Linked DNA regions of Homo sapiens: region 1 is linked to region 2. Evidence: promoter capture Hi-C in 16 types of primary human blood cells and fetal thymus (Javierre and others, 2016). All regions are on one chromosome and are shown on one strand. Each heading gives the region's core, a stretch centred on a gene start or on the middle of the fragment in contact. The rest is flanking DNA. Distances are from core to core; before and after follow the strand shown. Region 1 overlaps DNAJC1 (DnaJ heat shock protein family (Hsp40) member C1). Region 2 holds the start of SPAG6 (sperm associated antigen 6).

The links. Contacts are between HindIII fragments. The CHiCAGO score rates a contact against its expected background, and 5 or more counts as called.
Region 1: a fragment that was not itself captured here is called in contact with the fragment with the promoter of SPAG6 in region 2 in 1 of 17 cell types (erythroblasts); the score reaches 5.5 in erythroblasts.

The regions. Positions count from the first base shown.
Region 1 is chr10:21,978,084-21,982,990 of GRCh38, reverse strand. All of the region lies in intron 1 of DNAJC1 (DnaJ heat shock protein family (Hsp40) member C1), which reads left to right. Among named protein-coding and RNA genes, the nearest start is that of DNAJC1, 23 kb to the left of the region's middle. The HindIII fragment of the contact is 2,258 bases long and covers 869-3,126 here.
Region 2 is chr10:22,344,061-22,349,022 of GRCh38, reverse strand. It overlaps SPAG6 (sperm associated antigen 6), which reads right to left and starts at 3,527. Exons shown (of 11, transcript NM_012443.4): 1 at 3,387-3,527; 2 at 3,205-3,300. The coding sequence starts at 3,411. RefSeq lists enhancers at 2,682-3,498, 3,459-3,678. The HindIII fragment of the contact is 2,343 bases long and covers 3,037-4,962 here.

The DNA of each region.
Region 1 (4,907 bases), core at 748-3,247, 360 kb after region 2:
CCCAAACTCCCAGGCTCAAGCAGTCCTCCTGCCTCAGACTCCCAAGTAGCTGGGATTATAGATGTGCGCCATCATGCCTGGCTAATTTTTTAAAAAAATTTTTGTAGAGAAAGGGTCACAATTTGTTGCCCAGGCAGTATTTAACTTTTTGAGGAACCACCAAATTGTTTTTCATAGCTGCTGTGCCATTTTACATTCCTACCAGCAATGTACAAGAGTTCTAATTTCTCCACATCCTCGTCAGTACTTAGTTTTTACTTTTTTTTTTTTTTTATGATAGCTATCCTAATAGGTGAGAGGTAGTAACTGTTGTGGTTTTGATTTGCATTTCCCTAGTGACTACTGTTATTGAGCATCTTTTCATGTGGGTTATTGGTCATTTGTCTTCTTTGGTGAAATGTCTGTTGAAGTCCTTTGTCCACTTTTAATTGGATTTTTTTGTTGTTGGTTGTAGGAGTTATTCATATATTCTGGATATTAATCTATCAGATATATAATTAGCAAATATTTTCTCCCATTCTGTGGGTTGTTTATTTACTCTCTTACTAGTGTCCTTTGATGCACAAAAGGTTTTCATTTTGATGAGGTCCAATTTATTATTTTTTTCTTTTTTTTGCCTGTACCTCTGTCATATCAAAAAATCATCACCAAATCTAATATCATGAAGTTTTTTCCCATATATTTTCTTCTAAGAGTTGTATAGTTTTAACTCCTATGTTAGTCCTTGATCTATTTTTAAGTCAATTTATATATATGATGTGAGGCGTCAAAGAAAAGTAGAGCCTGACAGTAGTTAAAGCAGTAAAAGCAAATTTTAATCAGGAACAGTTGCAGTAGGAGAAAAGAGACTTCGTTACAGAATGAAGCTTAATTCTGAATACAACATGGAAAGTGGAGATTTATAGCCAAGGAACAGGGTCAGTGGATGGAAGATTAGAGGAAACATCAGAGTTAAGGGGGTCTCTGGTGAAACCAATTTGACAAGGTTTTTGCCAAAGGCAGGCCAAGGTAATCAGGTATCGCCTGGGGGTTGGTGGGGAATGAGGAATTTGGTCAGATATATTGAGGGTGATCGGATATCAATGGTAGGGTTTCTGGCTTAACTCTCTTAGCAGAATTCTTGCTAAAATTGGACGATGCAAAGGAGGAGATAGAAGTTCAAAGGTTGAGGCCTAGCTGTGAAGATGGTTTAGAGGAGCCTGACTAGAGTTTAGTCAAGGAGACAGTCTTTGTTAAAGGTAAGGGTTCAATTTTATTCTTTTGCATGCAGATATCCAGTTTTCCTGGCACCGTCTGCTGAAAAGGCTGTTTTTGAATACACATATTATCTCATGTAATCTTTAAAACAGCCCTACTTAGTAAGGCATTTTTTCCCCATTTTACAAATGAGGAAATTGAATTTCAGAGACTTGCCCAGTCTCAGAAAACTAACAACTTGTGGAGCTTATCTGTTAGGCTCAAAGATCATAACTGTTATTTTGTAATTGTTTCTTACTATTTAAATGTTACCTATTCTTAAAGGCCCAGCCCAAATTTAATCCCATTATTAAAGATTTTCTCCATTGCTTGCTCTTCCAATCAGATATGACTGCTCTCAATTCCATGGCAAATTTTTAATAGATTCTTAATTTATAGTACACCGCAAATGGTATGTGCTGAATACATGCCAAGTGAGTAAATGATAGAATTATCATTCAGAATAATCTAACTGGTCTCCATACCATCGTAAACTATGAGTTGAAAGGATGGAAGTAATCAGGGAAAAATGTAATTCTACATTTTGCTTGAGAAAATCATTTGCACAAATATAAAACGGGGAGATCTGGTTTGACTTCAGTAAAGATGAACACTCAGGTTTTAGTTGTTTACATGCTGAATTAGGCCAACAGCATTATGCATCTGCTTTTAAAATTCAACTCTAATTTGCATTAATAAACATAGAAACAGAGAGTGACTTGATCACAGAAAATGAGAAATTTAATGCAATCTCCATCAATGTATTATAAACACTCCTGGTACCACACTTAAGGAGGAATATTAACAAACTGAATTTTTTTTTAAGGGGAGCTACAAATACAGTAGGGTTTCTGGGAATCTTGCCCAAAAAGAAGAACACATTTAGTCTGAAAAGGAAAGGCTAAGGAAATATGTGATCACTGACTTCAAATATTAGACTTAAGAAATATATTTTAAAACTTTTTATGTATAATTTTTCATTTTGAAATAATTTTAGGCTTAACAAAAGGTGGCAAAAATAATACAGTTCTCATATACCTTTCACCTGGCTTTCTCAGATGTAACCTTAATAAATTGATAAAAACCAGGACATTAACACTGTTACAGTGTTATCTACAGATGTTATTCAGATTTTCCAGCTGTCCCATTAACATCCTTTTCCTGGTGCAGAATCACACATTTAGTTGTTTTATCTCATTTATGTCCACTCTGGGACAGTTCCTCAGTCTTTCTTGACCTTGACACTTTTGGAGAATATTGGACAGTTATATTTTAAAGTGTCCCACAGTTTGGGTTTGTCTAATATTTCCTCATGATTAAATTCAAACTATGCATGTTTGTTATAAATACTATGGAAGTGGTGTGCCCTTTTCAGTGTATTGTATCAGGAGGCACATGATATCCATATATCTCATCACAGATGATGTTAACTTTGATCATTTGGTTAAGTGTCTGCCAGGTTTCTCCACCGTAAAATTACTATTTTCTCTTTGTTAATTTCTTTGTAGGAAATTACTTCTTAATGGACAGAACTAGGAAATATATGTGTGTATATGTGTATATAGTTTGTTCAATATCTGGATTTTGTGCCTGTTTTTGTTCACTGCCATTTCTAGCACTTGTTTAGCCCTGTGGTCAGTAGATATTTGTAGCTAATAATATAGAATAGTGTAAAGTTAGACTAGATAACCTAAGGACTTTCCAGCCCCGCAACTCTGTTAATGTTTTGATTCTGGAAAAATAAGCTGGGGAACAAGACAAAAATAAACTCTGAACAGGATTCATAATAAGCAGAATGCAAAAGTCATAGGACTTTTGACTGCAAAAGTCATAGGAGCAGACATATGCAGTTTTGACATATGACTGCAAAAGTCATAGGAGCAGAAAGCTTTGATTATTATCAAAAACAATGAAGGTGTCAAAGGCCTGGAACAAAGTTTGCTGTGGGTAGGTAAGAAAGAGAAGCTTGATAATCGTTTTATCCATTGTACCTTAGCCGGATTGACTTGCAGAAGGTAAAGCCATGGTGAAAAAAAAAAAAAGAAAAATTATAAATAAGGATATCTCCTTTACAGGTATTCTGTCTTTAGTTTACTTTCCATTATTTCTTACTTTATCCAGGTAGACCAGATCCAAGTACATGTATTCCCACTGTAAAACCATATATGGCTTCATATTCTGCAAAGTCACACCCTAAAAATAACAGTACCTATGGGAAAAATAGGGTTGAGGTACAGCGTTCAAAATCTGTGGAACCTTATAAGCACTCATGAAAATAATAATACTTTAAAAAATCAATTAAATCTCCTCTAGCATTTTAACCTGGCATCATAGTTCTTAAAATCCTTTAAACCCTTGTTCTCATGCTTCCTTATTTGGGATATAGATTCTTTAGATCAGTTGAATAAAAATACATATGATTCAGATAAGAGCCCTTTTGAAAATGAAGGAAATGTCTTTGCAGCTTCTTGAGCTGCACTCAGAGATTGATCAGATAGCTTTACATAGTAGAAACCATAGAAGTTCTTGAAGCCACAAAACCAGCTACTACTTATATTAATAGAAGGCACGTCTAATAGATTTCTAGCTGGTTTTTTTTAAAAGATCTTCATATTTTACTAAGGTTTTGTCTTTAATTGCAAGAAAACTTATCTTGGATCATTAAAAAAAAATGAATGTGCCAGGGGAAAAAAAAATCAAGTCGAACTTACATACCTAACTCTGCATTATAAGAATATCATTCCGCTGTTTACTAATTGTATATAAGATCATTCAAATTAAAAAAGTCATAGAGGTAATTAATCTGTAATAATCTGAGTAACCGATTACACCTCAGTGACAGTGTGTTTAGCCAGAGTCGGTATTTCCTATATATGTATTTTTTATAGCCTTAGATGTTTCTGATAACATTGTATAAACATATCACTTACTGAATTTACAGACTCTGAATAAATGGTGGCTTCATGATACAGTTTTTAAAAGTATTTTTACCTTAGGATTCTTGGGTCTTGTATCAGCTCTTGTGGGAAGTTTGTGTATGTTTCCAGTCTTTTCCCTCTTTTTCCTGTGACTCATTCTACTTCTTCATCTACTTTAGTAGTCACTAGCACTGCCAGGTTTTGTGGAATCTTTGACAGAAATGTAGGATTCCTGCCTTTTACATACAGGAAATAATTTGATAGTATTGGAAGACAAAATGTAATCAACTGATAGACTGCCACATGTTGTCTGTAAATACTAGGCCTGTGTGTGCTATTCCCTAGCATTGTCTGGCTTTACTGAAAGCACTTCAAGCTTAAGAAATTGCTGACCCCTGTCTTACTAGGTTCTGAGCCAATCTTTTCACTTGCTAATCGACTTTCCCACTTTACTGAAAGGAGAGGCTTTCAAATTCTATACTTTATCAGTGTATTAGTTCTACAAAATGTTGCTTCAAGAAATAATGGAAATTCTTAAAGAGTTTGCATGTTGTTGCATGTTTCTCTCTCCCTCTGTTCAAATTTCCCTCTTGATGGAGATGTGCTTCTGGGTGACTGGTTGCCAGGAACTTTTATGTTCATAAGTACTTTTTGAATATTGTATTACCTATTTAAAAAGTTAAGAAAAATCTATATATATTTGGATGATGAGGAATGAGATAGATGGAAGAACTTGTGAGGAGTGAAAGAGCT
Region 2 (4,962 bases), core at 2,278-4,777:
AACAAAACAAAACAAAACAAAAATTAGCCAGGTGTGGTGGTACGCACCTATAATCCCAGCTACTCAGGAGGCTGAGGCAGGAGAATCACTTGAGCCTGGGAGGCAGAGGTTGCATTGAGCTGAGATAGCACCACTGCACTCCAGTCTGGGCGACAGAGTGAAACCCTGTCTCGAAAACAAAAAAGAAGGAAATCAAACTTAATCTTTTCCAAATAACTCTGAAGAAAAGATCTTGCAACATACTTTGTCTGCTTTGGCAATTACTTTGGACATATTTAATAAAGCAAATTCTCTTATTAGTGTATAAAAAACACAATAAAAAAGATTGGAGACTTAAAATGAAATAAAAACTCCATTGACAATTTTCACCTTTAATATTCCTTTCACATAGAATAAATTCAAAAATTCTTAACAAGGGAATTACTGGTTTGATCATGATACCCATATGGAAAATATTTTTTACATTATCTTGGATCCATGATATATATTTACTTAGCATATTGGAGGGAAAAATGAGAAAACAAACAAAATCTTCCAGGTATGTAGACAGTATGTCAAAGTCAGGAGTAATATGCATTGGTATCTGAAGCTACCAAATGAAGGCATTTGACTGAAAAAAAGTTTGACCATAATGTATAATTGATTTACACATACTGAGGCTCATTCTAAAGCCCTTTTTTAAAATTGTAATTTTTTAAAAGAACAAATCATTTGAATGGTTAAGTAAACTGACTATTAAGAAAGAAAACTGGCCGGGCGCAATCCCAGTGCTTTGGGAGGCCAAGGCGGGTGGATCACAAGGTCAAGTGATCGAGACCATCCTGGCCAACATGCTGGAACCCCGTCTCTACTAAAAGTACAAAAATTAGCTGGGCATGGTGGCGCACACCTGTAGTCTCAGCTACTCAGGAGGCTGAGGCAGGAGAATCGCTTGAACCTGGGAGGCGGAGGTTGTAGTGAGCCGAGATCATGCCACTGCACTCTAGCCTGGCAACAGAGCAAGACTCTGTCTCAAAGAAAGAAAGAAAAGTTTTCATAACAAAGTTTACAGGTTCTTTTTTAATCAAAAGAATAAATACATTGAATATTCATTATGTCTGTATTTAAAATTGCTAAAGGAATGCTTGAATTGAATCTCGATAACATGAAATTTGTTAAAAATAAGTCCCTCAGGAAAAGAAACATTTTAGCATGCTACCCAGATATTAGTCAAGTGCAGAGAATTTCAAAACATAAAGTTATATTCCTTTCGTATTCATCTTTCCTAAGCCAGACCATAAGTGTAGAATCTTATATCTAAGCCACTTATACAGTCAATTTGGATTAAGTTCCATTGTGAAGTCTACATTGCACTCTTATGGGAGGAGCTAACCTGCCACTACTCACTAAAACATGATACTCCGTATCTTAAAAGTTATGTATACTTTAACATCTCAGTATTAAAATTTGAAAATAATATCAATTATTTTCCCATTTTAAAAGTTTTAGTTTGGCTATATTCATATTGTCCAGAAACTAAATCTTTGTTAAGTAGTAAATGTCCATTCACAAAGGTCATTGAGAGGGACTGAGAGAAAAAACTTTAAAAGTTTACACTTTAAAATTACTTTTAAATACACTTCTAAAATGTAACATGTTCTAATACCTTAGTCTGTGTTAGTCTGTGTATATGAAATACTGTGTGCCCAGTATTGTTCTGGGTACTTGGAGGAGTACGGGTGCATACACACACACAGAATACAGAAAATCAACCCATATAAAACAACTATAGAACAAAGGATTATCAATTCTGAAATGACAAAATTTTAGAAATGGAGAAGAGATTAGTGGTTGTCCAGGGTTAGGGATAGCAGGAGGTGTGTGTGGCTATAAAAGGGCAAGAGAGAGGATCCTTGTGACAATGAAAGTGTTCTGTATCTTGACTGTGCTGGTGGTGGATACGCACGGAATAAAATTCTATAGGACAAAACACACACACACACGAACAATTAAAAGGAGGAAACCTATATAAGATCAACGAATTTTTATCAATGTCAATGTCCTCCTTGTGATATTGCACTACAGTTTTGAAAAATGTTACCATTGGGGAAACTGAGAAAAGGGTACACGGGATCTCTCTGTATTATCCCTTACAGTTGTGAATCTACAATTATTTCAAACTAAAATGCGTTTAGAAGATTATAAAATATACTTTATTGTAAATACATGCCCCCCAATAAAAACACACAAGGAATAAATGCCAAAAATCCTAGTGACAAAACGAAGTATCACATAGGTGCAGTAGTAATTCCCCTCAAAGAAACCCAGAGTAATCATTACACTTAAGTATTCTTGCTGTCAACATGTTAATTGTTTAAATTATGTGTTAGTTTTAAAGATCACATCCTATAAACTGAAGATTTCTCATGACACAGTAGTGATAAAATGCTACCTTACAGTTCAGATGGTGGTAGAATCATCCAAAAAAAAAGAAGAAGAAAGAAGAAAGAAGAAAAGAAGAAGAAGAAGAGGAAGAAGAAGAAGAAAGAAGAAGAAGAAGAAGAAGAAGAAGAAGAAGAAGAAGAAGAAGAAGAAGAAGAAGAAGAAGAAGAACCATTTTCTCTTATCAGTTTATGTTATGAGATAAGAAGATCTCTCTCCCTCCCTCTCCCCCTCTCTCCCCCTCTCACATCTGCAAGAGTCCGGACTGAGGAGTAGAAGGAACGCGCCATAAGGATTTCGCAAAGTCTGGTCTCTACCTACTTGGAATTTCTTGGAAAAGATTCAAGCATATCATTCCCCTTTCACTAAAGCAAGACGAGAAATCACGTCTAAACCACTGGAATTGCTTTGCTGTGAGGAAGTCGAAGGTGATCAAAGGCAGGGTGGCATGCAAAATGGCACTTGGATAAAATGGGTCTCATTAGGGTAGAGTCCCATTCACGTAAAATGACTCCAGGCAATTCCTAGGGCCTCGACTTTCAACCTGACACTTGCCTGTGTGCAATGAAGATGGAAACAGGGACAACGCGCACCTCCCACAACCATCTGGAAGCTTCACCCTCTCGGCCTGACCCCCAAAGACCCGCTGAAAAGAATGGATGCTTTTGCGAACTCCGGTCCCCACACTGCGGCTCCCCAAGAGCTCCACGGGCAGGGCAGCGGGGCGGAGGCGTCGGGGACTCAGTGCGCGGGGGGCGACGGGGGTTCGGGCTCCGGGCTCACCCGCGTTCTGCAGCGTCTCGATGTTTTGGGGTCTAGTCGCCAGCTCCGCCACCATCTGCACGAACTGGGTCCTGGCCTTCTGGTATTGCTCGAACACTGCGGGAGAGAGAGTCGGTGGAGCCCACCGCACCCGGGTCTCCTCGGCGCCAGCTAGTTAGGGCACCTGCCCGCCTCGGCCCTACCTTGCAGCACCTGCCTCTGACTCATGGCGCCCCCGCCGCCGTCTGCCCTCCTCGAGCTCTGCGGGGAAGCCGCTCGGCCTGCGAGTCCACCAAGGGGGCGATCGTGGCGACGACTCGGCCTCCGACGGGAGCCGCTTCTCTGTGTACCCGCGTCTCCCGGGCAACCTACCGGAACCGGAACGCGGCCGTCTTGCTGCAACGGCCAGTCCCGGGCGTGACGTCACGGCCGCGGTGCCTGGGCGCACTGAGCGGGGCGGCGGCGCGAAGACGCCCGAGCTCGAGGACTCGGACTGCTGGGGCTCTCAGCGCGCCAGGCTCGCGGAGCCGCCGGGACATCGCGCGCCGTCGAGTATCCCTGCACTGCCCGGAGGTCGGAGCTCCTTACAAAGCGACCCCAGATTGCCGTGGTATCCTGACTGCGGCGCGGGTCGGGACCAAGCGCCGGGAGAGCCCCACGCGCCAAGGGAGCCTGGTTCGAGGGCAGCCAGACGAGTAAATTGCAGCCCTGGAGTTGTCTGAGCTTCGACGGTCCCGAGAAATCTCACACGTCACATTGTACAATCCGATCAACACATGAATGTCAATGCAACTTAAGTGTTGCATTGACATTTAACACTGCACTGACAGTAAAACACTGATTTAGGAATCCGTGTTTTCTTTTGTAACCCGCTGTTATATACCTGGCATTCCTGGTTTCAAGATTCCTGGAGGAGCATGACAACCATGTTCACACACTTAATTACACTGTATTGAAAGCATTTAATGAGCACTCAGAGACTCAGTGAGGAAAGCAGATGAGGAAAGGATGTGATGAATGTCCTGTCTTCCCTGGCTTTCTCCTAATGACTACTAATTTTGCTGTTTCCTCACTTTTATGTGATTTGTAAATATTTTGTCTTAGTCTTTTAAATTTAGGCTTCGTTATGTTGATGAATGACATCTCCAACAGAAAAAGAGAGAGAACCTTTACCTGGAAAACCAGACTTCCCTATCTTATATAACTTGAACCCTTTACCCAGTTTCTTTTAACAAAATTGAAGTACTTAGTCTATTACTGGTTTCTAGCTTGTCTTTGAAAACTATATACCAGTTGTTTCAATGACAGTTGTCAACTTTAAATGTTCCTCCATCAAAAACTACAATTTCACCAGATGTCAAGTGGATACATAGCCGCAGCTGCTGCTAAGTAGTGCCAAGACAGGAAACCCCTTGATATTTCTTCAACAGAAGGGAGCATGCAAACTTAACTGGTTCTATATTTGGAATGAGTCCTCTATATTTATCTTTGAGATCTCACCCTTCACTGAGCTCTTGATGAAGTCCTGATACTTTGTGGAGCTCCAAATAGTTGGGGAATGGTCCAGCAATCAGAGAGAAGAATAAGTGTGTTTAGTCGGGTCCCTAATACCCCCGAAGGGCAGGTACATGTCTTCTGCTTCTGCAGCTCAAAAGCCAGTGATGGCCACAATCTTTTTACTTAATTCAAAGTCGTAAGTTTTACAGTGATATCTATATTTCCCTATGGGAATATGTCCTTTAAAATTAAAGTTATGCGTTCCCATTTAGAGACGTGGGA